Regions from separate parts of the Homo sapiens genome. Here regions 2, 3 and 4 are each linked to region 1. The links are contacts of gene promoters, found by promoter capture Hi-C in blood cells and fetal thymus (Javierre and others, 2016). All regions are on one chromosome and are shown on one strand. Each heading gives the region's core, a stretch centred on a gene start or on the middle of the fragment in contact. The rest is flanking DNA. Distances are from core to core; before and after follow the strand shown.

Region 1 (6,885 bases), core at 3,426-5,925:
CCTCTTGTATTTAAAAAAACAATAAAATATAATAAAGTTGAGGAGAAACCATCGGATTTAAAAATGAATGTCCTAAGTCTAAAAGTCAAGATCTGTATCTTGAGACACAAGAAATTTCCTGTTAATGATGAACGTACATCATTAGAGTTTCTTATCTTTCAAATTCTAGAGATTTATATGGGGATTCTTTGAATTACATACAAATATTTTTAACCTTTATAAGATTTATATCAAGTGGTATATTAATACCATCTGTGGCCAGTACAAATTCCACCCTACACCCCGGAATTCCATGTATTATGAATTAAGTATTCTGTCTATTCCATTTGGGTCTATAAGCATTCTTATCATGTCTATTTGTTTAAGGACCTCTTTTAAGAAACAGCTCATTTAATATTTTGTGTTTGAACCATCTTGAAGGCAAATATTACAGTCATTTTCCTTTTACATAGAAAAAATACATATCATGAAAATAAAATAATACAAAATAACATTCATGGGTTCCGAGGGCATATCTCCCAGGATGTGAAGTACTGCCTCACTCTGGTAGTATGGTCAGCTGGAGGTAACTAGGAAACAAGCTAACAAAACAAAAGGCTGAACAATCAATAAATTAAACAACAAACCTTCGCTTTGAGATTACTAGGTGATATAGAACAGGAAGGCATGTGGCTGTCCTGACAACCAGCATCTATTCCTCCCTGGCTGGAGTTGAGGTGATGGGAGGGAAATTGAGTGACAGCAGAAAGAATCTCTGTAAGCAGAGCTCTCAGAGTGACACCTTTGGGGACCCAAGGCCAGCCGGGGTTAAGATTAGTGTGAATGCTCTGAAATGTCTGCTTGGTGTTGGCCACACCCTTCCAGGGCCCCTGGCCTGCCCTGCCCTGGCATGGCCAGTTATGTCTGGAATTCAGGGCTGTCATCCCCTCCCCAAGCTCTCTTGTGGGGTCCCTGGTGTGGCTTTTCCTCCCACAGTCCCTCGTTTGCCTTTATTATCAGTAGCTGCTCCCCACAGTGGTGGCATCATGAGTGCTGGAGAGCTTTCTCTGCCTCAGCACTCTTGGCCTCGCCTCTGGGCGTCCTCTGAGATTGCTGTCACCACCAGGCCGGCTATGGACTCTCTATAAGATGGTGGGGCCTCTGGGTGGGAGTCATTTCCATCCTGGAATTCCAGGCCCGTCTCTGTATATAGAGGTGGAGGAATGCCAGAGGCCTCTCTCTCTGCAGGACAGCTCTGCTTTTCCACCTCAAGGCTCTCTTCATAAGCTGGAGGGTAAAAGTCTGGCCTAGGGGACAAAACAGCATAAACATGCGTGCGTTATTTAGGCATTAATGCCAAAGAGGCAGACGGCTGCCTCTCTCAGCTCAAATTGTGCGAAGCTAAACTGTTAAGAAACATGGATTTTTGAAACAGATGTACTTCTTCCTGGCATCACCAGTTTTTTAAAAATGTGCTGCTCTTCCAAAAGAACCTTTTTATCAGCCACAGGATGCCTGCCTCTAGTCACATTTTTTTCCCAGTGGGTTATGCCAAGCTATTCCTTCTCTATTGCTCATTCACTCATGAAAACAGGGCCATTCAGTGTGAGATCCTTGTCAACATTAGAGGAGGTGGGGGCTTTGGATAGGGAACTTCTCTCTACCGAGTACTTAGTCCATCCACATCCTTGCTCCCTTTCTCGCATGGCATCATCCCCTCAATTGCACTCACTTTCTCTGATCATCACAGCCAACAAAATAATGAATGAAAACCAACTCTGTGCTGATCCCTGAACTATACCAGATGCCATGTCTCTATCCTAACACCCTTTCGAGACTCAGTAGCTAGTTTCAAAGAAAATATACAAACATATTCATTTCTCAAATGATATCAACTGACAACTTTACACAGATTTCAGTTGTAGCCCTTTCTATGCCAGTAGGCTAAAGCAGCCATTCATTCGGGGGCTGATGTACTCATTGGTCATCTTGCCTGGCATTTCTAATTGCTAAATCCTCCTGGCTTCTCCATCATGAATGAATTTGGGGGAAGGGGAGAGGGGAGGAAGAGAGACCGGTGAGCTTGGCTGAGTTGTGTATTTATAGAGTGATCCTTCCAGTGCCTACAGGGAGTGTTTATGGTGTGTAACCACAACAGAACAGGGACTGCCATTTGTAGCCACAACTCCATTCCAAATGTTACCAGGCCCAAAGCCAGTAGCTGAAGAAGCTGTCTACTATAAGGCATAAATCTCAGCCTTCGCTCAGAATAGCCAAGGCTGAGTCACGGGGCACATGTGTAAAGGCATTTTACACAGAAAGGTGAGATGTTCCCTGGAGTGATGTGAAAGGTTCCAGGATGACTGCTGCCTGCCCCAAATCCCAGCTACCTCTCCCAACCCCACCCTCCTTCAACTGCCATCCATATTCCCAGTCCCCTGAATTCCATCATCGGAGACCCATTTGCTTTGATATCTCAACCTGGGTATCCATTTTGAGTGCAAATGCTTTGGAGAAATGTGACTTCCCAGGCTGACTTGCCAGCCATTCTGCGTGGGATAAGCATCTTATTACATGCAGCGAGAAGAGGCAGTAAAATGGGGGTGTTACGATGTCCATAATTTACTTTCAAACATTTCAGTATACTGTAATATTATGCAGTGTTAGTCAATTTAAGCTATATCCTAAAGGCAATCAGTTACATTTATCAGAAATTCACACTCTAGAGGTAGTCCTCTAACATTTATACAAAAAGAAATCATCACTCTAGAGGCATCTTCTACAATCACTTCATTTCTCTTAATTTTTAATCAAACCCAGAAACTCTGCTGGTTAGTATAACATTGGAAATAAGTTTTGGTTTTCATAATTATTATCTTATTAATTAGCATAAAGGATGCCAAAAGTGGATGCTCATGGGTAAGATTACTTATATTCAAGATACATGGAGTAGCTAAAATATTTTAGATACTTTCTACTCTTGCACGAAGAGGGCAAAATAATTATAGTCTTGTAGCCTGTATCTTGAGAATGATGCCTAGGGTGTTATCCCTAAATGGTCCTGTGGCTAGCCAAGAATTAGGAGGTTTCTTGTTGCCTGATACTGACTATAAGATTAACTGAATCTTTTTTTTCTTGTGGTAAAATATATATGACATAAAATTTACTGTTTTTAAGTGTATAGCTCAGTGGCACTAAATACACTCATATTGCTCTACAACCATCACCTTAAAACTCTCTACTCATTAAACAATAGGTCCCCAGTCTCTCCTTCCACCAGCCCCTGGGACCACTGTTCTACTTTCTGTGTCTGTGAATTTGACTACGCTAAGTACTCATGTAAGTGGAATTATACAATATTTGCCCTTTGTAACTGACTTGTTTCACTTAGCATAATGTTTTCAACTTCATCCAAGTGGTGGCATGTGCCAGGATTTCCTTCCTTTTTAAGGCTAATATTCCATTGCATGTATATACCACATTTTGTTTATCTACTCACCTGTTGATGGACATTTGGGCTATTATGAATAAATGTTGCTACAAGCATTGGTGTACAAACATCCATTTGAATCCCTGCTTTCAGTTCCTTTGTGTATAAACTCAGAATGTAGAATTGCCAGATCAAACAGTAATTCAATATTTAATGTATAGAGGAGTCTCCACACTGTTTTCCACAGTGGTTGCACCATTTTAACATTCCCACCAGCAATGCACAGCGTTCCAATTTATTGACATCCTCACCAACACTAGCTGTTTGGTTTTGTTTTTTGATGATAACTATCCTAATGTATGAGATGGCGAGAAAGAATGAATCTTGCCTCTAGAATATTATCACCTTCCCCTGAAGGAATGTTTTATGCAAGGTGAGATCACAACACCTAAAAGGACAGTAAACTGGGACTTTTCTGAGCTCACAGAGATTCCAGGACTCATTTTATGCCTGCTTCTTCATTTGTTGTGTGGCAGAATTTGGTCTGGGACTTGCTTTCCTTAGAACCTCATAGCCAGGTTATGGGAAGTAACTAACCATCACCTGCCACTAATTAATGACAGCTGCCATGATATAACAAAAGAGCCTGGGTTTCTAAATTGGCTTAGGTGGGTTTTCACTGGGGGTGGTGGTAGGGTTTCTCTGAGATGAGTTGCCCCTGCGTCATGGTTTTCCCCAAAGATGGCGCCACTCTTCCTAATAACAACCCCAGAGTAATTCCCTGACAATAAAGCTTTGGTTCTAGACAGACAGCCCATGGGACATGTAAGTCGCTCCATAGTAGGATCAGAAATTACTCAGATCTTACACAACTCAGCCCATCTCAGCCCTTCTTGGTCCCTCTGCCTGTCAGCACGTACCTGTCTACTGTGGCCACGGGCAGGGCCCCATGAGCAAGGTGTTGTCGGAGCATGTGCCTCAACACTCCTTTGCTTTCAGTCACCTGGCGATAGTTGCTCCAGAAAATTCCACTCAGAAGGATCACAAACCCCAGAGGCAGAAGCAAATAGGCCGCAATCAGGCTCCCCTGACAGTCGAATATGGAGCCCCAGGAAATGAAGAAGGCCCCCAGGCAGACCATCAGGAAACCCATCAGGAGGGCAAGAGCACAGAGAATGAGGCCAGTTCTGTTCTGCATCCTTGCACCTTAGGAACCCAGCACCCTGACCCTGCTGCTCCTCTGCTTCCCTGCTTGCTCCAAGAGAATGAGCTCATTAGCCAGCTTGCAGCTTTATATGCTCTGGGACCCACTGGCCTTTGGACAACTAAATGAAACAGGCACTTAGAAGCTATTCATTAACCATTGAAAGTAAGTGTAATATCCTTGGAGAATTAGCCAAAAAACATAGCATTGTATACTGCAGGCAGGAGTGGCTTCGTGTAGCTGTTTTGTTCTTCAGAGTTGGGTGGGACACTCAGCTGTTCCCAGTTATTTGAACGTACAGCCCTCCTTTGATTAAAAGGCGCTGGTCTCTTAATCCCCATGGAGGGCAATTCCCCACTAAAAGCTGGAGAAGTTAGCACTCTTTAAAGAACGATCTTCTTTGAGGTTTGGTAAGAAATCCCTTCCTGATTCCTTCTCCCTTTTTCTGTACTAAAAAGGCATTTCTTCAAGGCTGTTAACATGTTTGTCTTGCCTCCCTCAATGAATCCCCACTTATTGCCCCCACACTATGATACTGGCATAATTCCAAGACAGAAGTTCAGAGTGTGAACTTCGTGGTTCCTGCTCTGTTGACAAGATCGAAAGAGCCTGAGTGGGAGGGAAAGGAGAGTGCTGGAGAAAAGGACTATAATAGACAGAGCCTCGGGAATTTGGGGGGATTTTGGGCCTGTAATTCCTGCAATCTTTCCCCCTTTCATAAAGTACATATGAAATAGAATTCGTTTTAGAGGATGCTGCTAAAAATGTTCCCTGTCCTCTCCTCCACACCTCTGCTCTATGTAGCATTGCCTCAAAAAATCTTTCCAGAACCAGCCTTCTGTTTCCTGGCTGGAATTTGTTTTCTTTAGCTTGACTGTCTTTGATTGTGGATAGCTTATTTCAGACGTGCTTTATGCCCTGGCTCTGCCCTTTTTTATTTGATAATGTGGCATGTCTCTGCCAAAAGTCTCCTTCCCATAGGAACCCTGGGTTGCTTTTACTCAGGATAGCTTATCTTCAGTTCCTCTTTGCTGCTGTTCCACTCCACTACTCCATTACCATTATTTTCCATTTACTTTCCCAATGAGAGCAGCAGTTTTTTGTGGCGTGCCCTAATAATCCCTCATATAACCTTTAGTCTCACACTCACCATCTCCTTAGCTCTACCTTCATGTTAGGGCTGGGAGACACGGATATTAGAGAGGTACACACTATGGATCAAAAACTATATAAGGCACTTCTCCATTCCAACCCTTAGCCTTTACCTTTCTTAGCTTCAATTTCGACCTTGAACTACCTTGATCTTCTAGTCTTGATATTGTCTTTGTAATCTTAAAACAGCTCTTATTCCCTCCTTCCCCAAACTGTGAGATGGAATATTTCTAAGATGATCCCTAAGGATCCCACCTCCTGATATTCATGTCCTTGTGTAAGTAATCCTCTCCCCTGAGTGTAGGCTGGACCTAGTGACTTCATTCTAATCAATAGAATATGGTAACGGTGATCGGAAGTTACTTCCGTGGAGGCTACACAAGATTGTGGTTTTCATCTTTCTAGCAGACTCTCTCTATTGTCCTCTTGGCTTACGCCCTTTGAAGAAGGAAGCTGCCATATTGGAGAGGCCCATGAGGCAAGGAATTGAGGGCAGGTTCTGGCCAACAGTCACTGAAGAACTGAGGCCCTTAGTCCGTCAGCCCATGAGGAACTGCATCCTGTCAATGACCACGTGAGCTTGCAATCAAATCCTCATCCCACTGAGCCTTGAGATGACTCTGCTCCCAAGCATCACCTTGACTCAGTGACCCTGAAGTAGAGGACCCAGGTAAGTCATACTCGGATTCCTGACCCACAGAAACTGTGAGATAAAACGTTTCAGCCAGGGTCCTGGATGCCACAAGATGGCAAGAGCCATAATCAATGAATGCATTATGATCAAATCATTTCATGTTTATGGATGTCACTATTTTAACAAATAAAAGAGGTCAAAAGTTTAAAAAAAGTATATTTTAAAAATATGCTAAGTTTTGTGGCCATTTTTTAGATAGCAGTAGATAACTAAAAAAATTCTCTTAGAACTTTGAAAATCAGAAGAGACAATCAATGTTAAGTATTTATCATAGTACCTGGCACAGAGAGTGCCCTGTGAAGGTTATCTATAATCACCATCACCAATATTGTTATTATCATTGCTGTTACAATTCCAAAAATCTGTGGAAGACCCAGGACCCCCAGCTGAAAGGTCTGCACTAGGAGTTGGGTCCCAGGAACAGGT
Region 2 (7,983 bases), core at 2,077-4,576, 260 kb after region 1:
GAAATCAGCAAGATTTGGGAGAGGGCATACTAAGGAGAAAGAGAGAGAAATCAAGAATGACTGATTTTTGTAAATGAAGTTTACTGACTTGAGTAAAAATGGGAATGAAGTGACATTGAATGAGATGGGAAAGTTTGCAGGGGCAGAAATAAAGAGGTGTTTGAGTTTTGTTTAGGACCTATCTCTAATATGTTTTTGAGGATTCTAAAGGGAGCTGTCAGTTGGCTATATAAGTTCAAAGCTAGGGAAATCTGGATGCAGCTAAAATTATATTTGAGATAAGCACACCTTCCATCAATATGTTGGCTGTAATTTTAAAAAGCATTTGGAGTATACTTGAAAATACTGAAACTCTCTATCTGTAGTACATACCTTCTGTTCATCAGTGACTAATTTTAGGGTACACAACAGTTGTGCAAAAGAATGAAGTCCTCTTAGTTGCACTTCTTATCAAAATCCCAATGGTATTGTTTTATAGAAATAGAAAAAAATTAAATTCATATGGAACCACAAAGGAGCCCAAATAGCCAAAGCAATCTTGAGAAAGAAGAGCAAAGTTGAAGGCATCACACTTCCTAACTTCAAAATATATTACAAGCCACAGTAAACAAAAGAGTATGGCACTCTCATAAAAATAGACATATAGGCCAATAAAATAGAATAGAGGCCCCAGAAATGAACCCATACATATACAATCAATTGATCTTCAACGGGAGTGCTAAGAATACACAATAGGGAAAGATAGTACCTTCAACAAAGGGTGTTGGGAAAACTGGATATCCATATGTGAAAGAATGAAACTGGACTTTTATATCAGACGCAAAACCAACTCAAGATGGATGAATGACTTAAAAATAATACCTGAAACTGTGAAACTCCTAGGAGAAAAGCTAGGGGAAAGGCTTCATGACATTGGTTTTGGCAGCAATTTCCTGGATATGACACCAAAATCACAGGCAACAAGAGCAAAAGTGGACAGATAGGACTAGGACAATATCAAACTCAAGAGCAAAGGAAATGATCAACAGAATGAAAAGGCAACTCATGGAATGAGAGAAAATATTAACAAACTATACATCTGAAAAGGGGTTAATATTCAAAATATATAGGGAACCCCTACAACCCAATAGCAAAAGAAAAAATAAGGAGCCTGATTGAAAAATAGGCAAAGGACTTAAATAGATATTTTTCCAAAGAAAACATACATGAGCCTGGCCTTCCCATATCAGGTTCCTTAGAGAAACTGAAAATAGTGATGGTGAAGGGGCTGGTGGAGATACCTGTGGGCAGCAGGTGCCCGGTTTGGGCCAGTGAGTGAGGAGAAGCCTCACACACAGCATGTGGTATGTGGCTACCATTTTTTCTCTTGCTTAGGCCCTGCAAATGTTGGGGGTAGACCTTGCCTTTCGAATGCAATAGTCCTTGAGGTTTGTACCATGCTTTTCATCCAGCATCTAGACAGGGCCTGCACATGCACAGGTGTTTGTTAAATGGATGAGTAATCCAGTTTTCCTTGTTTTCTGTGGCATGGGGAAGAAACATGGGTTGCTTGAAGTACCTTGGGTTCAACAGACCTCACCATTTCCTTCTTACTGATGTAAGAAGGCCTTGAAGACCCATCCCAGTCAGTCATCCATGGATAGCATCTATGTCAAGAGGATGTCGGGCCTTTATGTGTGATTCTATAGTTAGTGCAGTGCACAATGGGGCTCCACTGAAGGGTAGATGGAGGCTGATTTCCAACCTGTTCTCAGCTGCCACGCTCTGTATCTGCTGTTGAAAAGGGGCCTTTTTCTTTGCAGGGTTAAGTCTGCCCAGAGGTGGTATCTTTTTCTCATTTTTCTGCAAGGGCATAGGCATTTGCTAAATCAGAAAGGTTGCCTTTTTGTCATTCAAACAAAGGTGTCCTAGGCTTCCCAAGGTCATATTTGGGTACCCTTGCTCCAAATTCTCCATGACTGTTAAGTTCTTGAGGAACTTGAGCTGTAAGCACTCCAAGTGTTGGAATACTTTGAGCAGTTGTCTCCCTGTGCTTGCATCTCTTCTCCCCCTCATATAGAAATCCCAGATAGGAAAAGTGTCGATCCAAGTTGCAGGCTTCCATGTCCATTCCTAGGGCTCTCAGGCCTCGCTGAGTCAGCACCTGCTACTACCACACAGGTGGATTGGTCCATAGATATTTTAACCCATTGCTCTGTTCCCAGATGCCCCTGCCTTCCTTCTGATAAGGCAAATTTAATTTGTGTGTGTGAGGAGGGGATGGAGAGGGTGCTTTGCTTGAGCCAGGATATAGTCCTTTATATTCTGCTGAAAATTCTCAAAGGAGGGCTATCCAAGGGAAAATAACAAGCCCGGGCATGAGAGAACTTAGAATTCCAGGGATACTTAGCGGTATTAACACTAGGAAAAGGGCACATTTTTTTTTTCATATTGGATTGCTAATAATCACAACAATGCTAAATACTTCCTGGATTTCTTTCAGTTGGGCTGAATTTAAGAAGTATAGGTTTATGCTGTTCCTTGATGCTGAGAAAAGAGGGTACATGTAATACTGAGACATCCGCACAGTGGTGGGTGTTGAGGCACCCTGCCAGGTGGGAGAGATTTGAAATATATTCCAAGACTAAAGATTTGGGATTTTTTTCGTACTTTCAAAACCACAGGGATTGACAGAGTTTAATAATAAGATTACAGAGTTACTCCTGTGAATATAATATACCACTTGAAAGAAGTACATTTGGTCAGGCTGGACGGAATCTCATCAAAGAGATAAGGGAAAGTCCGGAAGACACACCTGAGTATGGTCTGAAGCCAAAGAACAGCATGCTCCAAAACAAGCCCAATCTCAGGTTAAGAAGCCTTCATCATTTAGAGTGGCCACCACACGGACTCTCCTTGTTTTGTCTTTTGACTGTTAGGTTGAGTTCTGATGGAATGAATGATGGGGGTTTGCCCCAGCATATTAGCAGCGCATTTCGGCCCTTGTGCCAGTCTGGAAACAGGCGATAGAGAGTGAAGTCAGTGTGTTACCATCACAGAAAACAGCTTAGAAAAAGATACCCCACCAGATAAATAATGGGCATCTCTGGATGAGAAGATTGATGGCTCCTTTTATTTTCTTTGTGATTTTCTGTCTCTTTCTCATATTTCTAAAATAGATATGAGTTGCATTTATAATGATTTTTAAAGTTATTCCAAAAGAGAAACTATTCAAAGAAACTGAAACTTTATGGAATGAACCTGGAATAGCAAGAAAAGATATCTTATGGAAGTATTCGAAATACTAAATTGATAGCCATCCTTAGTTTTTCATGTCAGTTTGATGCTTGAACATTCCTTGATTATCCAGTGCTAAAAGGAGGAAGAAAACATTTATGAAGCATCTACTTAATGTGTAAGGACTTAAAAAATGAGACATCCTTTCTGAACTCAAGGTAGCTTATCTAAGAACAACAGAAATACGCATATATGCATTAAACTTTCCATTTTTGTGTCTATTCATGTGCCAGGCACTGTGATGGATAGAAAATGGATGGATGGATGGATGGATGGATGGATAGACAGAGGTTATTGCCCTCAAGGGGCCAATAGTGTACTAGAAAGAGAAGAAATTTAAACTGAGGATTACAATATAGTCAGTAAGTGTCACAATAGAGTTAGTCCCAGAGCACGTGAGTACAGAGAAGAAACGCTGCCCTTTGCCTCAGGAGGGGTAGGAGAGGATTCATACGAGGAAGTCATGCCTGAGCTGCATCTTGGAGGACAAAGAGCACTCAGCCTGAGAGTGAAGGGGATGTGCCAGGCATTGAAGTGTGTGCAAAGGTAAGATGCAAAGAGAACCACGCATTCTGAGAGCTGACAGTCATCCCATGTGGCTGCAGTTGTGTTGGGGTGAGCTGGGAGGAGATATGAGAGTCGTGAGAGGTCATACGCTGTGCCAAAACCTCTGAGGTTTGCCCTGAAGCAGTGGGAAGCCCTTGCAGGATTTTAAAGAAGGAGAGTGGTTAGACAGATTTGCATATAGAAAAGTCCCTTTAGCAATGTTGTTCACCAACAAGGCAGACTAATTAGGAGGCTAGGGCAGCAATCTGTGTTAGAAATGATGAGATCTCAATTAAGTTTGTATAAGGGAAAATGCAGAGAAAGACTCAGAGTCAAGGAACATCAAGGAGATTGATTGGAAAGAGCTTAATTGATAGGTTGTGGGGAGGATGTATTGAGGAGGAATTGGGATGGCCCCTTGATTTCAGGCTTGGACAACTGGGTGCTAATGGTGGCATTCTTTGAGCTGGATGGGATACGATAAACTGCAATTGAAGCATTTTAAATTTATAGTGCCTGCGAGATACTATAGAAACCCTAAAAGCAGCTGGGAATATAAATCTTGAGCTCAAGAAAGTCTGGGCTCAAAGAGTTATTTGGGAGTCATCACAAGTAGGTTGCAGTTAAACCCATTGGTGATGGAAGAGATTATTCAGAAGCAGTGAGAAGAAAAGAATTCGGAAGACCATGAGGAACAGGAACATTTAAGAAACAGTCAAAAAAGGTGGAAGCCTGCCAGAGAGCCCAAGAAAAAGTGTTCAGAGAAGTGGAGGAAAGCCAGGCATACCAGGAAGGGAAAACCAGGCATATATGGAGGCCCTGCTCATGCTGTCTCCCAAGTTCATCATCCGTGGAAGAAAGGGCAAAGAGCAAATGCCAAGTGGCAGACATGCACTTCCCAACTGAGTTTGCCTCTAACAAGTCTCTCTGGATGTAAATGTCTGTCGATACCTCACTGCTAGAATGTCTAGGAATACAAGTTTCTTGTTTGTTTAACTGGGAACATTACCTTCCTAAATAAAGCTATGATCCTGTTAATAAAGCACATGGGGAAAAGGGATTTGGGGTATTTGGGGTAGGCAAATGACAGTGTTGGCCACTTCAGGTAGCCAAGGGAAGAGGGACAGTCAGTGAAGGAGGACTGGTCATTCATCAGTTCAACACAGATTTGAGAGCCTGCTGTGTGCAAGGTATTCAGTGTCCGTGCTTCAGAGAAGTTGAGGAAGGTCATGAATGAAATGACTGCTTGGGTGAAGCAATGAGGAATCCACCTTTGAACTTGGGGTGGTTGTCCAGGAGGCCGGATTGCTGTGCCTCCATGAGCGTGTGGAGGGGTGGGGGTGAAGATGGAGAATGGACAACAGTCTTTTGAGGAGTTGACTTTGAGCATAAAGGGAGTGGGATGATGCCGCAGCCAGGAGGGAGCATCAAGGTGAAGAAGAGGTTTCAGGAGCCAGGAGGAAGGGTCTCAGGAAGGAGTTCACATGCTCATATTCTCAGGGTGAAGAGCCAGATGAGGGAAAGTAGTCGATTCAGGAAAAAGAGTATCTGATAAAGCTCCAGACAGGTATGTGTTGTGGGGAGCGGAGAACATACCTTAGCTGTGCATCAGAGAGGGACAAAGATGGGTATGGGCGTTCATAGTTTACAGGTGGGAAGGCAGGAAACAAAGGGCCCACCATTCCTCGGGGAGGCAGGGGGCAGGTAGCGGACTTAAGGAAATAAGCGAAGTCTTCAAATAGGCAGTATTAGCAGAGAGGTTAAGAGCCACTTTGGAACTGGACAGTCTGTGCATTCCCATCCTGGCTCCAACTGTATGACCTTGGGCAAGTTATTTATATATTTTATTCTTCTAGTTTTCAATTTTTTTTTTTTTTTTTTTGAGAGACAGGGTCTCACTCTGTCATTCAGGATGGAGCGCAGTGGCATGATCATAGCTCACTGCAGCTTTGAACTCCTGAGTTCAAGTGATCCTCCAGCCTTGACCTCCCAAAGCACTGGAACTACAGGTGTGCACCACTTCACCCAGCTAGAGGCAAGTTATTTAACCTCTCTGTTGCCTTCGTTTTCCTCTGCAACCAAGCAATGAGGATAATAACAGAAACCTGTTACTTGGAGTTGTTGGAAGAATTAAATGAGTTAATTCATGTAGTACTTGTCTGAGTGCCTGGCACAAAGGAGTGTTTCATATGCATTGGCTGTGATAATGATTATTTATAGGACAGAGAGCACATGCAGTCCAGGGTCACCTAAACGCCTAACTGGTCCAGAATGCAAGTGCGTTGGCTGAGGGCTGTGAGGGCACAGCAGATGAAGCATTGCATTCTTCAAGGAAGTCCTCAGGGGGAGGCATTTGAGATTGGCACAGCCCTGGAGAGGCTAGCTCAAGTAGAACAAACACTGTTGGTGCAGGCAAGAGGCTGTCAGAGCACCTGCCACATTTGCAGAGGAAGGAGCCCTCTGACACTTGAGAGGGAGCATGTGGGGCGCAGGGGGCCCTGTGTGTAGAGGCTCCTTCACCTCAAGGGTGGGAAGAATGGTGGAGGAGCGGCCAGAGATGAGGGTGAGCATCACACTTTGCAAGGCCTCGAATACCTGGAGTTTCTTCTGTAGCCACGAGAAGGTTGGGAGCAGGGCAATGAGGGTCCACTCTGTCCTGTGGTGCTCCTTCTGGTGAGAGTAGCTAAAAATAGTCATCACAATGCTGAGTGCAGGGACTGCGTATGGTGTGCCAGGAACATTGGAGTGCTGTAAATCTTGGACATTACTAACGACTGCCCTGTGAGAGAGGTACTGTTATTTGTTTTATTTTTCAGATGAGGAAACTGAGGCACACAGAGGTTAAGCCACTTGAGGATTCCATACAGCTGGTGTGCGGCAGAGTCAATAGTGAAGCTGGGCAGTGTTGTGACACCAGAGCCTCTTCCTGTGACCACCGAGCTGTCATCACCTGTCACATTAGGGTGTGGCTCTCCAGAGGGGGTAGTGACAAGTGGAGATTGGAGCAATGACCTCTGCTAGGCTTATGGCAGCTTATTGATAAAACATTTTCTGTCTTAGTCAAGGAGAGTTTGGCTGTAAGGACTAGAAACTCCTGCAAAGAACTCAAGTGAATGCTGAATGGATTGTGAAGATACAGGGGCGCTCCCAGAACCCAGTTGCTTGCTAGGGAGTATGGCTAGACATTACACAGCTGGAGAGTTGTCAGGCTGTAGCAGTATCTCTGTCTGTCTGGAAACACAGGGCCTTCTCTGTGCATCTTTCCACAGTCTGATTAAATTGCAGCTTTCCTAGTTTCACTCTCCCAGGACCTTGGCTAGCCCTGACCCTACCTGACCTGAAAAGTCACTTGACTCACTCAGTCCCTGTGTTGTAGATAAAGTTCTTGCTTTGGATAATCTGCTGGTTTAGCCTAGTTCAAGTGTCCCTCCTTGGTTCCTTCTGCAGCTGGGATAAAGGTGGCACAGGTTATGACCAGGCAGGGAGAAAGCTGCTCTGAGAACTCCATGATCTTCAGTGGTTAGTGAAGCTTGCACGCCTTGCCATCTTGACTTAACTGCTAACCCTGCACTCCTCAGTCCCTGGCTTTGCTCAGGTTCTGACAGTGTTTTTGTTGTAAACATCTTGTGGGGCTCCTTCCTTTCAGCCTGCAGCTCTGCCCTGGTCTTTCAGGTCTTCATCCTCATGACTATTGCAGCAGGCTCTAGAGTCACCCTTCAAATCTGGTTTTCGCTTCCCATTTTATCTCGCCTTCTTTTAAGCAATATTATTTTTACAATTTTTATTGGCCTCCTATTCAGAAGCCTTCAGCAGATGTTCCTTAATTTGTCACATTCATGGCTGTCTCCCAGGGCCATCTAGCCCGCCGCTAATCATCCTCTTCCCTTGAATTCCCATCGTATCAGCACAGGATAATTTTCTCTTACCAGACATGCCATGGCCCTTCCCTTCTCCACGCCTGCTCCTTCCCTCCTGCTCTGACATCTCTCATCCATGACTTAAGAATGCTGACTGTAGACCCTGACTCTAGACCACAGTCACCTCCCTCTCCTCTGAACTCCTTTTAGTTTTGATTCTCTAGGGAAATTGTTGGTTTGTTGAAAGCAGCTGCCTGCCCAGTGTGTCTTGAACCTGCACACAGCCAAGCACATGTCAAACACT
Region 3 (7,322 bases), core at 102-2,601, 310 kb after region 1:
GTGTTTTACTTTCTGTAGTTAAGAGTTTTTTTTTAACTTTTTCTCAATGAGCATGGGCTACAATTTACCTTTCTAAATTGAGCAATGGTATCTTTATGGATATTTATCTTTCAGTCTGATATATTTTTGAGCCTATATTGTTTTTCAGGTAAAAAGCATTTGGTTATAGGTCCATAGGGTATATGCGCTTGGAATATAGATCAAAACAAGAACCAGAATGACCATGGCTTAAGCTAAGTTGAAGTTTATTTCTCACACGCATGAAGTGCAGAGGTCATTTACTTGCCTCTGCAGGGTATTCAGGGGCCTAGGTTTCTATCTTGTTTTTCTACCATTCTCAATGTATAGCTAACAAAAGCGATTAAAGAAGCCTACTTCATCTCTGTCCATCACATCTGTACACAGCACACCCCTTCCTGGTGAGGACGTGACCTAGGAGTCGGACACATCATTTCCTGTCCCAGCTCAATAGCCAGAAAATAGTAATGTGATGATACCTACCTAAAAGAGAACCAGGCAAAATACCCAGTTGAAATCCATTACTATATCACAAGGTTTCCGAACCTCAGCACTATTGACATTTGGGCTAGATAATTGTTTGTTGAGGGGGGCTGTTCTGTGCATTGTAGGATGTTTAGCACATCCCTGGCCTCTGTCCAATCAGTGCTAGGAGCACTGCCCAGGTGTGACAACCCAAATTGTCTCCAGACACAGCCAGATGTCCCTGAGGGTAAAGTCAAGCCTCTTGAAGAACAACTGCTAAGTAAGAAGAGAATAGATGCTGCAGACAACCAGTAACATCCGCTATAAGCATTGTGTTATTTCCCCCAAAACAGTGCTTAGCACTGAACTAATATATAACCTTTCAAATAACAAGTCCTCTACCAGGAAATCAAACATGCTAAGATTGTGTCAAATTTTATTTTGGTTGATTCTAGGATGAAAAGTCAATCCTGTCTTATTTTAATCTATTGAATCTAAATTGATATTTATATCAAATAAATAACAATTTTTATTTGAATACACAGACAAATGAAATATTCTTCCCTAGTGTGTAAGAATAGTATTAAGGATATTATACTGTGTTACATTTATAATGAATATCTCAGTTTAAAGTGTAATATTTCTGAAAGACTAATATAACAGCAAATATATACAGCAAATATAACAGCTCTATCCTAAATCAAGAATTTCATCTGCAGTTGATGGCCTGTCTCTTTTTAGGGCAATTAAGTGTCCATAATTTGATGCTGCTGTATTATGAATACTTTAAGAGTACAGTATTTTTCTGTTAATGAGGAGTGTTTACTTAACATGCTCTTCCTTTCCAATGAGGGAACATGCTTTGCTGCCAATCAAATTAAGGTGGAGATCATTTCAAAGAAACCATGAAACACTTTTTCTTTATTCTGCCTCTCCTATTAAATGTTGAGAAGCAAATCTTCTATCAAACAGATGGATATACTGGGATCTTGTTAAAAGGCTGCTTGATAAAAAGGGAAAGTTAAATATAAAGTGGATCTGTGTTGGGCTTCTTCCAAGGTTGTTTAGTGCCTAGTGTGTCAGAATAACCTTGTTATAAGGCAAATTCACCACATGGAGTGTTCGTGCCAGCCTAGGGAAGGCCATCATTTAATGGAACTCCAGTATTCTTATTTTTGAAAATGCAGATGCTGCAGAAATTATATCAGAAATGTCGTTGCCAATCATGAAAATAACAGAATACCCCAAAAGTCACGTATGAAATGATTCATACTGGGAGACGGGAGTAACCGGTTTTAGCTCCTGTAATGAACAGAGGCTGTGTAGAGGCATGATTGGTAAAGCTGGACCTGGAAGAGTGGGTAGGATACTGAAAAGAGAATGGAAAAGGACAGCATGGAAAGCCCAGAGATCAGTGGATGCAGAGACCAGAAATCACAAGGCAAGTTTAAGTGGGACAGTTTGGCTAAAGTGGTGGATTTGCATAGAGGCAAGAGGATCTCTGGCTTGTGGCCAAAACAGTAACTGGTCCACCAGAGTTTGTGCCCCCTCTTCCAAAGCACAGCTGGGTCTGGAAAGCAGCTGCAGAGCCGGCCCTCCTTGCATCTGAGCCAGGCCGTGTGGCTTATCCTTACTGGTGTGCTATGAATGAGTCATTGTCTGTAGGACCTGGGCAGTTAAAGGATGACACACTTAAATCGGATAATTTGGAAGGAATTTAAGAGGGACTCTTTTTATGAGAACACATGGACACAGGGAGGGGAACATCACACACCGGGGCCTATCGGCAGGTGAGGGGCAAGGGGAGGGAGAGCATTAGGACAAATACCAAATGCATGCAGGGCTTAAAACCTAGATGACAGGTTGATAGGTGTAGCAAACCACCATGGCACATGTATACCTATGTAACAAACCTGCATGTTCTGTACATGTATCCTAGAACTCAAAGTAAAATTTTAAAAAAGAAAAAAAGAAAGACTCTGTTTGCAAAGATGTGGGAGAAATGCAGGGAAACCATAAGGGGTAGTTCAGTGTCTTGAGGCAAAATGTACCTTGTTACCCGCCTCCCCCACACCGCCCCCCAAGCCATAAAAAGGTAAGAGAATGGCACTATTTCTAGATCCCAGAGTAGGAATCATCTGGAAAGATCCACAGAGAGGAGCTGTAACCTTTAGAAGGACACAACCAGACCGAGTCAAACCCTTAAGGAGGGAGGGATGGAAGTAAACACTTTGACCTCACTCTCAAACCTCCGTCCAGTCTTCTGCCATGGTGTCCCATTGGCCAAACCCAACTAGAAGCCAGAGGGAGCCCTTTGATGTGGCCTTACTGATGGTAACCCAGGGCACAGAGCAGGGTGAAGGAGGGTTGAGGGACAGGCCTGGGGTAGATATCCTGCACTGTCACTTCCTGGCAAAGGTAGGAAGAAGTGGATATTCTCTCACTTCTCCTATCAGCCAGCTGGACTGGGGGGATTTTACGATCCTAGGGGCTACTAGAGCTACAGGGATGCAGGAGCCAGGCTCTCTGAATCACCTGACAAAGGCAAGTGGATTATCATTCAGAGACACTCACTGTGGACTAGGTCCTATCAAAAAATAAACTTCTCTTGAATCAAGACATTGAATTTTAGGGGTGTGTTTTTTTTTATAGGACTTGGTATTTGAGGATTGATTTATTACAGCATTTAGCATTAACAGGAACTCAATTGTAGAAAGTTTTGAAGGCCAAGCAAAGAATTTGGATTCATTTCTACAGATGGTTAAAAATTAGTGGAGGCTTCTATGCTGGGAGGTGGTTTTAAAAGGAAAAACAGAAAGAGAGCCTTGGAATGATGAGTCTGGCAGTCACATGGCAGGTGGAATGGAACACAGTGAGCAATCCATTGATGCAGCTGGCCCAAACCCCATGTGATCAGCGGGACCTGTGAATCAGTCCCACACAATACAAGCTGAAGGGATGGAAGCATAATCATATTCCAAGTTCAGGTGCCAGCCTGCCATGTAGAACTTGGGGAAGGAGGTGGTCTAAGACCAGTTGAATGATCACCCCACTCTATGAAAGGGCCTGGCTGGCCCACTGTGAGATATGGAAGAGGAAATTTGGAAAGAGTTGTTGATATGTCATGAGTAACCCACATAAGGGAGAGGCTTGGGAGAGGGTCTGCCCACCATCTCAAGCCTAGAGAAGGGGGCTTCTGTGAGACCACTGAAGAGTGTGCTGTGTGCTCCCTGGAGCCTGGAGGATGCAATAGACTATAGTATTTTTCTGAAAAATCAGAAAGTTTTCAGAAGAGAAGTTTTGGTCAGCTGCTCTGATGACGGCAAAACCAAAAAAGGCTCCTTGGGGAGGGTGGGTGTTCCAGGCAAATGATATGTGACCATTGGAGGACACTGAGCTCTAGAGAGAGCTAATGTGGGGTCACCCCAGTCCTGTCTATGTGAAGACCTGGAAAAACAACAGGAAACTACCAGGCAGAGGAATGCAATAGCCATTTGCGGGGGAGAACTGCAGACCCCATGAGAGCACCTCACAAGAAAAAAAGATACATACCTGGACAGCCTTTTCAGTTCCTGGTACATTTTACAACTGTACTCTTCAAAAAACACCTTTCCTACCTCTTTTCTCCTCCCTCTAGCAACCAGTCAGAAAAGAGAAGAGAGGCTCCCAAGCCCCTCCCACTGCTGGAGGCCGGCTTGTGCCAGGCAAGCTGGGGGAAGAGAGAGATGGCTACCAAAAGCATATATAAGTTTTTATTATTATTATTATTATTATTATTAAGCTGGACTGTACATACCAGATGTCTAGATGAGACCATTTTTACAGATCTATGACTGGGAATAAACAGAAAACTTTTTTTTTTTTTTTTTTTTTGAGACAGGGTTTCATTCTGTCATCCAAGCTGAAATGCAGTGGCACAATCACAGCTCGCTACAACCTTTACCTCCTAGGCTCAAGCAATCCTCCTGCCTCAGCCTCCTGAGTAACTGGGACTACAGGTGCCGCCACCATGCCTGACCAATTTTTTGATTTTTTGTAGAGAAAAGGTCTTACTATGCGGCCCAGGCTGATCTCATACTCCTAGGCCCAGGTGATCCTCCTGCCCTGGCCTCTCAAAATGCTGGAATTACAGGTGCAAGCCACCATACCTGGACAGGACCTTTTATTCCAGAAGCCACCAGAAGGGTCATAGACCTGCCGTATATTTCATGCTGGGGCAGAAGAAAAATCTAACCCCAGAATACATTTAGAGGAACAGTGGGAGACAAAAATAAACTTGTTATGATTACATTTTATAAAAGCACAATCATTACATAGGTTTGTTGCATTAAGGCCTTGACCTAAAAGAAAAAGCTAAAAAGATGAGCAACTCCTAAACATGCCTTTGTCATGCCTCAAAATGTATTTTAAAACATAGTAGCAATACCTTCATTGGAGGACATTTCCATCCCAATATATAAAACATAAAATTTAGAAAACTTGGGAAGTACAAAACTTGAAAGCAAAAATCACCTAATATCCCGCTATCCAGAAATAATTGTACATTTTGGTATATTTCCTTCCTGTCTTATTTTCCTCCGTGGATATGTACACGTGTACTTGGTTTTTCTTGTTTAAATTTTATGATCTGTATTGTGTCCTGCTTTTTAAACTTAACATAGTATCTTATTTTTCTAAGTTAAGGATCACTTCTAAAATATGATTTAAGTGATGGCATAATTTGACGAGTCCATCAAATAATTTTGTCAAATATGCTAGATCCAGATTTAGGTTTATATATGAATTAACAATATGAATGAGAAAAATATAGAGAATTTGACTCATAGCTTTAGATATTCCATCAAGTTGTAGTATTTATATTATCAGATGAAAGAGCTACTTGTGGAGACGGTTGTCACCCCTTTCTTCAAACTCTCTTTTCTTGGTTTCAGTGAAGCCATATTTCCCTGATTTTCTTCTACTGTGTTAGTCACTCCTACGTCTCCTCCAAAGCTTTTCCTCCTTCCATCTATTTTCTAAATGTTGTTGTGGTTTAGGACTCTCCTTGGATACTCCCCTCTCTCTCTTGGTTTTCTCATTCAACCCCTTGGTTTTCAATATCATTTATATGCTAACAACTCTCAAAATGAAATATTCTCTCTAACCTCTATCCCAAGCTCCAGACTTGTATGTTAGCATCTCCAGTTGGATGTCTCATTAGCATCTCAAATGGAACTCTGAATCTCTGCTCCAAAATAGGTACCATCTTCAGTTTCCTCAGCTTGGTAAAGTGACTTCAGTCCTCTCAACTGCTGAAGGAAAATGCCAGGAGGCATTGCTGGTACTTTTCTGTCCCTTATTTCTAGTTTGCAGCAAATTCTGTCTCCCTCCCTCCAATATATCTCAAATCCACCTCCTCTGCCCATCCTCTCGTTCATCACCCTTCTCTAAGCCATCAGTATCTCTATATGAACCACTACAACTGCCCCCAATCACTTTCCTGCCTATAATCCCTCCAATGAAACTGGTTGTAGGACTATGGAAATGATACAGTTTGTGGGTAGGCAAACCTCCTCCTCTCTGAGAGGAAGTGGGACAACCTCTTGCTTCTGAGTTCTTCAAATCATTTCTCAAGTTCTTTCCTGTATTAATTTTCTATTGCTTCTATAACAAATTACTACAAGCTCAGTGGCTTAAATCAATGCAAACTTATTATCTTATAGTTCTGGAGGTCAAAAGTTCTAAAATCAAGGTGTTGACAAGGCTGCGTTCCTTCAGAGGCTCTAGCAGGGAATCAATTCCTGCTACGCTAAGTAGCAGCCAGAGTGAACCTTTTCAAATAAGAATGCTGTTCCCTCATTGAAACACATCAAACCATTAGGATGGCCTATAAGACCCAGATCTCAGTCTGTCCAGTCTTTCCAGCCTCCAGTTCTGGCACTTTCCCTGTTACCCGACTAATGAACTCATATGATTTGCTTTCAGGTCCCCGAACCTTACTGCTTCTCTATCCCTGGAAATCAACTCCCCTAATTTCCTAATGTGCTTTGTCTTTCCTCACCACACATAGTAATCCAAAATGTCAATTCCTTAAGGGCAAGACTCTGTTCAGGTCACCTTTATGTCCCCAGTTTGTACAAAGGACACAGCCAGTCTTTGTTGACACGACTTGTTGACTGGCCCATTCTCACTTTTCAGGTCTCAGCCTACAGATCATTCCTCAGAGAGACCTCTGAGACTCCATCATTCTTGAGTGGGTCTCCGCCCTTCTGACCTCAATTATTTCACGCTGTTCTTTCTGTCACTGACTTCATTTGTCTTTATGCATGTGTATCTTTGTCTGTTTAATGTCTCTTTCCCCCACTAGACTAGAAACTCCCATGAGAGCAAGAACCACGTCTCTTTTTCGGCTTATGCTTCGCACAATGCCTAAAATAATGCCTGGCTCATACTAAGTGCTCAGATCTTTGCTGGCAGAATGAACAGCCTCTGACTGAATGGGGTTCTGAGGGAACCTCTTCTCTCTGCTGGGGGCAACACGGGAAAAAATGCCAGGGTCAATCCTGAAGTAGAGGAGTGTGATCCACAGAATAATGGGACCCCAAAGAGATCTATGTCCTAATCCCTGGAACCTATTAAGAAGACATTGCCAATAACTTCACACACTTGGCAGGTGTGATTAAGTTAAAGATTTTGAGATAGGGAGATTATCTTAGATTATCCAGATGGGTCCATATAAAGCGAAGTGAGAAGATCAGAGTCACAGAAGATGTGATGAGAGAAGCAGAGGTCAGAGGGAGACAGAGATTTAACAATTCTGCTGGCTTTGAAGATGGAGGAAGAGGCCACAAGGAATGCGG
Region 4 (7,970 bases), core at 1-2,500, 280 kb after region 1:
TTGCTGTTTGGCACGTGAATATTATCAAAGGCCTTTCCTTCTCCCAAGCAGTTGTAAGTTACTATCTTAGTTTCCAGTTGCTGCTATAACTAATTACTGCAAATTTAGTGGCTTAGACAACATACATGCATTATCTTATAGTTCAGTGAGTCAGAAGCCTGACATGGGTCTCCCTGGGCTGAGATCCATGTGTTTGCAGAGCTGTATTCCTTCCTGGACACTCCAGGGGAGAGTCCACTTCCTTGTCTTTTCCGGCTTCTAGAGGCTCCCTGCGTGCCCTGTGTCATGGCTCCCTGCCATCTTCAAAGCCAGCAATGGCCGGTGGCGTCTTTCCCAGGCTGTATCACTCTGACACTTTAAAGGGCCTGTGTGATTGCATTGAGCCCTCCTAGGCTCACAGAAATATGGGAAAATATTAATAAAAATTAATATTCTTTATCTAAAAGGTCAGCTGATTAGCAACGTTAATTTCCTCTGCAACTTGAATTCATTTTTGCCTTAGAAGGTGACATATTCACAGGTCCCAAGGATTAGAGCATGGGAATCTTTGGGGGTCAATTCACCATAATATAGAATATTGAGTGAAGAGAGTTGTTTGAAGACCCTTCTTATTCCTAAGAAGAAGGCTCCTGAGGGCATGCAGTGTTCTGTGTATAATATATGAATCCTTTAATGGACTCACTACTTTCCACCAACATTTAAAACATTTCCTACCTTTGTATTTTAAAACTTTTAAAATGTGAGATGCTCCTCTTCCCCACCTTTTCTAAGCCGCTCAGATTTTATGTCTTCAGCCCATTTCACAAAAAGTCTTTTTCCAGACTTCCTAATGTATCTTAACTTACCAGTCTTTGATAAATTCTCGACTCCCAGCTACCAAGCTAATGTTCAAACACGTTACTGGGTAAAATATGTTCCCAAGCACCTCTACTCCTGATTATAAATTGACTATACATTTTAGCTTTTCAAAGTTCTTGCTATTTTGCCCTCTTAAGAGTAGGAGGTTTGTGTATTGAAGGTTTATTATTTCTTAATTTTTCCTTTTATACTTTGATGGACAGCCTGCAAGACGTTTAGTCATAAAGTACATGAGCTATGGGCTCTGACCACATATTCAGGTCATGGAACTAGCATGATGTATTTTCTATTCCATTTTCATATGGGAGAATGTGCCCTTTTTCCTGGCATATCTTCTTTATCTGATTTTTCCACTCAGCCAAACCTTGAAATACAAACTGGGAGGTTGTCATTCAAAGTGATGGTGTGGTTGGAAAAGAGTTGGGTAAAGATTCAAGAGCTCAGAAGTGCCGCAGTATATTTTATAAAATTTGTACATTGGGCCAGAGGCAACAATACACTATTATTTATTTTTAGACACAAGTGAAAAACCAAATCCTGTCTCGTTTACCCAAGATTCCGTGTACATTCATTCAAGCATGGACCAACACAGAGATGATTACGTTGCTAGCCTGTTATTACTTCAGATCAGTTTCAGGTGGTATTCTCAATCAGCATCAAGATGCACTGAAATTCTTGACCAAATTCTGACTCACAGGAGATCCTTTGTCGCTGCAAAAGTTATAGAAAAAATGTGACCATGACATCTCAGAGTTTGCTAAGTGTACCCTGCCCAAGAATTTATTTAGTCAAGCAGGTTTTCAATAATTAGTATAGGTAATTCTATGATTAATGTCTCCAGTAGGATATTTAACTCAGCAATGTTTTTTAGGTTGTAAAAACTAAAAATCAAATTCTATGGTAGGAGAAATAAGGAAAGACACAGAAAACCTAAGGGGACCAGAAATTTTTTTTAATGAACAATTTTTTATGTGTAATAATATCAGGATCTTATTAATGATTTCTGGTTTTAAAAAGTATAAGCAATGGAAGGAGATGTACGTAGCCTCTCTTAAAAAGCACCAAGAAGACCAGCACAGCACTTAGAACTTCAGCCCTTAATAAATATGGTATTGATATGAATAGCAAGAAGAAGGAATCGCTTAGAGAGAGTGTTGTTTTACTGGCAGGTAAAAGCTCAGCTGAATTATTCGGTTTAGTTCTCTGATCTTCAAACTAGAGAAGGTGTTCATGGTGGACTTAGGAGTTAGCTATTGCAAATGTGTTTATCTCCAGGTCCAGATAAACCATTTCCCAGATGAAAGAACTTAAAGCTAGAATAGGAAAACCTCTGAATGTGAGCTTTAAATGAATTTCAGAATGGGAAAATTGTCAGAAAACAGGACATAAGCAAATATTATTCTTATTTTCAAAAATGAGGAAGAGTACATTCTGGAAACCAGATTATAAGTGAGACATTATTCCCCAGTATAATTTGAGCATTATTATTAAACATATGGTTTATACATATTTAGAGAAGAAACATATCTTTTACAAACCTGGAGAAATTCATAAAGATGTAGTTTATTTCAAACTAACTGCATTTCCTATTTTGAGAGAGTCATTAAATTACTCATAAAGAGTATGTTCAAATTTAATGAGTCTTGATTTAAAGGTGTCTAAAAGATTCGCTAGTCTCCTTTCAGACAAGGTGGATAAGTATGGGTTAAATATTATGTTTATTGTGTTTGTATCTGGTTGGACTGATGGTCTCGAAAACTGGCAATTTTGCTCCCTGTTCACTCGGTTTCCACCAGCATGATGCATGAGTTGGCCCTGGGTAGCTTACCATGTTCACCCATGACCTTAATGAAAGCATAAAAGCAGTGCTTTGCAAATGCAAATGACAAAAAAATTGTAAATGATAGCAAACAGACTACACAAGTGTTGTCAAGGCCACCATACATCTTATTCCCTTTACAAATACCTTAAATTTCTTTCCCAGTCCTGAAGCCCTGATCATAAGGTATGCACAGATTTACTAAGAAGCTTTGATGACCCATTGTGTTTTTGCATTGACTGAAGCCAGTCCATGGATCCCAGGTTAAGGCCCCTGGTCCTTTATGCTAGGAGTGAGAAATATACCACAGGAGTTTATAAGTAGCTCACAGTGGAGTGGGAGAGGCAAGACATGAAAACAGTTTTAGAACACAGTAGTCTATAATGAGGAGTTCAAAAGGGAAGAAACCAATGTTGTTAGAATTAAGCAGCAGGTTTAGGCTTTCTGTATGGAGCCCCAGATTTACTGGGCAGCTGCCAGTAACATTCAGCGTCATGAGTGCTATGATTTCCACGTGTTATTAGGGAACACTCAGTGTTCATGGGACAACTTTACACTTTGCGTCTCAGCTATTTGCATGTGATTATTGAGGCTGGCTGCCTTTTGTCTTGCAGTTGACCATTTCCTGAATCCATTCTCAGTTCTTGGCAAGCCCGGGAAGAACAGCTAACATTGGTCCGTGAGGTTAATAATGTCTTCAGCTAATGGCTAAAATAAGAAGTTTGATTTTAGCTGCATAAAACAAACAAGTTGCCCATTAAGACAGGCATTAAAGGCTGCCTGGCTATATTTACAGAGTGGAGTATTTCCATTATCAGTTAATTTATTGAGTGCTTTCCGCAAGAGTTGTAAATGCAGAAGCCTACTGGGGCCAGGCAGCAAAGAAGGGAGTGAGAAAACGAGGGGACCATGGTAAACAGAACCCACGCCTTCCTTAAAAGGGGCAGCAGGCAGTCAGCTCTAGCCAACAGAGCTATGAATGAATGCTCGCCCAGGGTTGCCAGATACTCTGATGTTTTTCAAGAAAAGAGAGATGAAGATTTTGATATGAAATCTGCCATTTTTAAATAACAGCAACTAATTCAAATGTTTTTAAAAATACACTCTGGGCAAAACAGTTTGCCTGCAGGCCCTATCTGTCCCGTAGGCAGTGGCCAGTTTACAACCTCTGACCTCCCTGTTGGTGTAAAAAAGTGAGAAGAAAAAAGGAGGATGCAAAAGAAGTGTAAGAACTTGTCTCTGCCTCCCCTGACCTTACAACTTATTTGGGAGAAAAAAGAGGGACCCACATGAAAAAATTAAATCTTGACCCAAATCGGTGTTGAGTAAGTGCCAAGACAAGTGGTATTTCTCTTTTATTTTTATTTTTTTGAGATGGAGTCTCACTCTATCGCCCAGGCTGGAGTGCAGTGGCACAATCTTGGCTCACTGCAACCTCTGCCTCCCGGGTTCAAGCGATTCTCCTGCCTCAGCCTCCCGAGTAGCTGGGACTACAGGTGCATGCCGCCACGCCTGGCTAATTTTTTGTATTTTAGTTGAGATGGGGTTTCACCATGTTGCCCAGACTGATCTCGAACTCCTGAGCTCAGGCAATCGACCCACCTCGGCCTCCCAGAGTGCTGGGATTACAGGTGTGAGCCACTGGGCCCGGCCAAAAATTCCACTTTTTAAGTGACTGTGCATTCTGATTTACCTACGTGTTTGTCTTGATGTCAGGGAGTCCAATGAGCACAGGCACAGAAACAGGGAGGAGCATGATTTGTTGGCATTACAGGAGAGGCTGGCCTGGACAAAGCTAAGTGGTGGTGTCTGGGGAAAGTAGTAGGCAGTTTTGGAAGTATGGGCTGGCTCTAAATGACAGCTACCCTTGGGTGCTGGTTTGAGGTGTTTGGATTTTATGTTCTAGGCCAGTGTTGTTCAACGGAACTTCCCGCAATGATGGAAATGTTCTATAATTTGCACCAATGCGGTAGCCACAAGCTATGTGTGGCTATAGGGCATTTGAAATGTGGCCAGTGTGTCTGAGAACTGTAATTTTTAATCTTAATTTTAGTTAAATTTAAACTTAAATAAGCACACGTGGCTGATGACTGCCATGCTGGGGAGTGCAGTTTTCAGGCGGTGATGTACTGTAACATTGTTGTAGGGGCTAGTGACAAATGAAAGGCCTGTGCAAAGCCAGTGGCAGAGCACAAGTTGTACAGGGTTGAGGGAGATGACACGGGAAGGCTTTTGTGTTAGTTGAGCAACAAAGTTGGGTGCAAAGTTGAGTAGGAAAAGATGTGGGGAATATTTTTGAAAAGAAAATTACATTTCCAATCAGTGCGACTACCAGAAGTTTTCTGCCATTGGTGGAACTAGGGAAGTTTGGGAAAGAGTATTGTGTTATTTTGGGATTTTGTTTGTTTGTTGTTTAAAAAGGCAAGAGACCTAAAAGGAAGCAGGAGGCGCAGGGCACGAGTTTACTTGAAAGAGGATGGTCTCAATGCAAGTCAAATACTGATGCTAGACATTCAAGTTTTGTCTGTTTTATATGTGAAGAAATGACCCAGCCCCACCTCTCCAAAACAAACAGATGTCAGGGTGGTTCAGTGACATATGCCAGGTTACCTTGCAGTTCTTTGTTAGGAAGATGATTAGAAGCTCCAGTCACATGATGTCCCATGTTGTCATTTGTCCGTTGGACTGGGTCAGTGTTTCCCAACACCAGGGCCTTGACTGTCATGGGAAACGTGCACTGCCATTTGCCTTTCTTCTTGTCTCACCTCTTCACCCTGAGGTTGTCGTTCTAGGCCCCTCACCCCTTCCTCTTCTGTTTCTCCTGCCTTTCTGGGCCTGCCCACAATAGGCCTCCACTGGGAGATTCTGGTTTTGATGACCGCAGGCTGCCGTGGGGTCAGAGGCCACCTGCCTGTGGCACCGAGGCCTCGCCTACAGTGTGCAGAGTCTTTTTAGCTGGTTTTCACTGTGACGGGCACACGTGCTCACAGCATTCAGAAAGCTCCATTGGGAAACTGACCAGACCAGGACACCTACAGGATCCTTGACCCAAATGCCCAGTTTTTTTCACTTTGTTTTATCTTTGAAGACCTTGGTTGTTGCTTCATTCCAGTGTCTGAGACAGTTTCCTATCAGTGGAGGCAGGCAGCGGTGAGGAAGGAGGAAATAGTACCTGACCGTGACCACATTCCAAGGAAAGATGCCTTTTATTGCTTTTTCACCATGAGTAAGATAATAGCTCAGAGACACTTTGATCTAAAAGGAAGTATTTCTTTAAATACAGGGTCTTTTATAAAATGTTTCTGACAGCTGGTAACACTGTCTGTCTCCAGGGAGAACCGGGTAGTAGGGTCCTTAGTTGGTGGGAAACTTCTCTGTGTAAACCTTTCTATGGCCGAGCATGGTGGCTCGGTGGCTCTATGGCTGGGCACGGTGGATTATGCCTGTAATCCCAGCACTTCGGGAGGCCGAGATGGGTGGATCACCTGAGGTCAGAAGTTGGAGACCAGCCTGGCCAACATGGTGAAACCCCATCTCTACTAAAAATACAAAAATTTGCTGGGCACGGTGGTGCAAGCCTGTGATCCCAGCTGCTTGGGAGGCTGACACAGGAGAATCACTTGAGCCTGGAAGGCAGAGGTTGCAGTGAGCCGAGATCACGCCACTGCACTCCAGCCTGGGCGACAGAGCAAGACTCTGGCTCAAAAAATAAGTAAATAATACATCTTTCTATGCATATTTAATTTTGAACTATGTGAAGGTAATACCAGTTCAAAAATTGAACAAATAACGTTTCAGGATTTTGGAGGGAAGAGGGGCTGGAGTGTGTTCTCTGTCCTGACCATTCTTCTTTTCCTTCAGATTCTGGAAAGCCACCACTTCCATAAAACAAGCAAACTCGTTTGTGCTAAGCAGCAGTTGTCATGAATAGCAGCTATGCTGGTCTCTAGGATGAATGACCCTTTGGTATTCTAAGTGTGATTCCTAATCCACCTTAATCCAAAATACCCTAACCTGCTGGTTCTCAACCAGCAATTCTGCCTCCACCCCCCAGGAAGATTTGGCAATATCTGGACATATTTTTAGTTGTTACAAAGTGAGGGCTGGCGCTACTGGCTTCTAGGAGATAGAGGTCAAGGATGCTGCGTCTTATGATGCAGAGGATGGACCCCCAAAACAAAGAATTATCTAAACGTTGTTAGTGCCAAGGCTGAGAAGCCTTGTTCAAATCAAACTACCCTTTTTAAGAGGAGGGCGGATGTGAGTCCAGCTCTTCCAGATACTGGTTGATAACTGTAGGCATTTTTCCTAGTTGTTGTGAACCTTAATTTTTCTCATTGATAAAATGTAATTAATTAATATCTACCCAAGCTGGCTTATAGTGCTGTGAGGATCAAACAGTTTAACAGACTTGAGCAAATACTGGGAAAAGTAGCATACTAATGAGTGAAGTCACTGTTTTGATGAGCAAGAATGCAGTCCCTGAGCCTCTGATTTCCAGATTAGTTCTATGGGGACGGAGCACTGGATTCCCGGGGAGAAGGGTTACTTAGTCTCCTGGGGGTAGCTGCAGTCAAGCCTGGGCATGGGAGGTGAGCTGACAGTACTGGGGCATGATGCTGTATGCGTCCCAACAGCAACAGGTGTTTAAAATCAGAGAGAAAGATGTGCTCTTACTAGTAAACGGGTGCCGCTGTGCTGAAGCCTAGGCAACAGAGCAAGACCCCATCTCAAAAAAAAAAATAGTAAACTGCTGTTGTGTTTTTAAAAATTAAGCAGCAAGGAGGTGAGCTGCATCATTTACAGAGGGAACATTTTTTAAATAATTCCGTTACACTTAGAAGCATGTGTAATCATATCACGTTACCATGCACCCCCCGCCCTGTCAGATCACCCCTCCAAACACTTGTGCTTCTGTCTCCTTCCTCACTAAGTACTAAAGCAGGTGATTGCAAGTCTGCCTTTATGAGTTTTAAGCAGGACATTACAGATAATTAAGCAAAAAGAATTGGCAGCTTCAGATTAAAACAGCTGAGCGAGCCAACCCTCTCATTATTAGCCTGTTGCCCTGAATGGTTCATTCTGAAGTGACCTCTTTCAGCATTCGCTTTGGAGGGGGCCTCCATATGTTAAGTTACCCAGGTTTGTTGTACTTCTGCCTTCTGATTAACTGTAGACTCTCTGTGTTTTGGTCCCTAATACCAATAAACGTCACATTGCTGTCTCTAAAACGCGAACTATAGGAAATCGTATTCTACACCCAAAACTTCCTGCACGGCTTCCTTCACTGGCA

Evidence for each region. The method cuts DNA at HindIII sites, captures the fragments that hold promoters and counts their contacts. A CHiCAGO score of 5 or more calls a contact.
Region 2: a contact is called between a fragment that was not itself captured here and the fragment with the promoter of TMEM252 in region 1, in 2 of 17 cell types (neutrophils and total B cells). The highest score is 7.1, in neutrophils.
Region 3: a contact is called between a fragment that was not itself captured here and the fragment with the promoter of TMEM252 in region 1, in 3 of 17 cell types (neutrophils, naive B cells and total B cells). The highest score is 8.3, in neutrophils.
Region 4: a fragment that was not itself captured here is called in contact with the fragment with the promoter of TMEM252 in region 1 in 3 of 17 cell types (neutrophils, naive B cells and endothelial precursors); the score reaches 6.8 in neutrophils.

What each region holds. Positions count from the first base shown.
Region 1 is chr9:68,536,208-68,543,092 of GRCh38, forward strand. It overlaps TMEM252 (transmembrane protein 252), which reads right to left and starts at 4,676. Exons shown (of 2, transcript NM_153237.2): 1 at 4,330-4,676; 2 at 373-1,286. The coding sequence starts at 4,607. The coding sequence ends at 1,052. It overlaps TMEM252-DT (TMEM252 divergent transcript), which reads left to right and starts at 4,818. Exons shown (of 5, transcript NR_187592.1): 1 at 4,818-5,023; 2 at 6,171-6,435. The HindIII fragment of the contact is 3,743 bases long and covers 4,201-6,885 here.
Region 2 is chr9:68,798,904-68,806,886 of GRCh38, forward strand. The region is part of intron 2 of PIP5K1B (phosphatidylinositol-4-phosphate 5-kinase type 1 beta); the gene reads left to right. Among named protein-coding and RNA genes, the nearest start is that of PABIR1, 23 kb to the left of the region's middle. The HindIII fragment of the contact is 8,045 bases long and covers 1-7,349 here.
Region 3 is chr9:68,849,793-68,857,114 of GRCh38, forward strand. All of the region lies in intron 4 of PIP5K1B (phosphatidylinositol-4-phosphate 5-kinase type 1 beta), which reads left to right. Among named protein-coding and RNA genes, the nearest start is that of PABIR1, 73 kb to the left of the region's middle. The HindIII fragment of the contact is 8,244 bases long and covers 1-5,473 here.
Region 4 is chr9:68,822,722-68,830,691 of GRCh38, forward strand. All of the region lies in intron 4 of PIP5K1B (phosphatidylinositol-4-phosphate 5-kinase type 1 beta), which reads left to right. Among named protein-coding and RNA genes, the nearest start is that of PABIR1, 47 kb to the left of the region's middle. RefSeq lists an enhancer at 2,794-3,295. The HindIII fragment of the contact is 3,268 bases long and covers 1-2,884 here.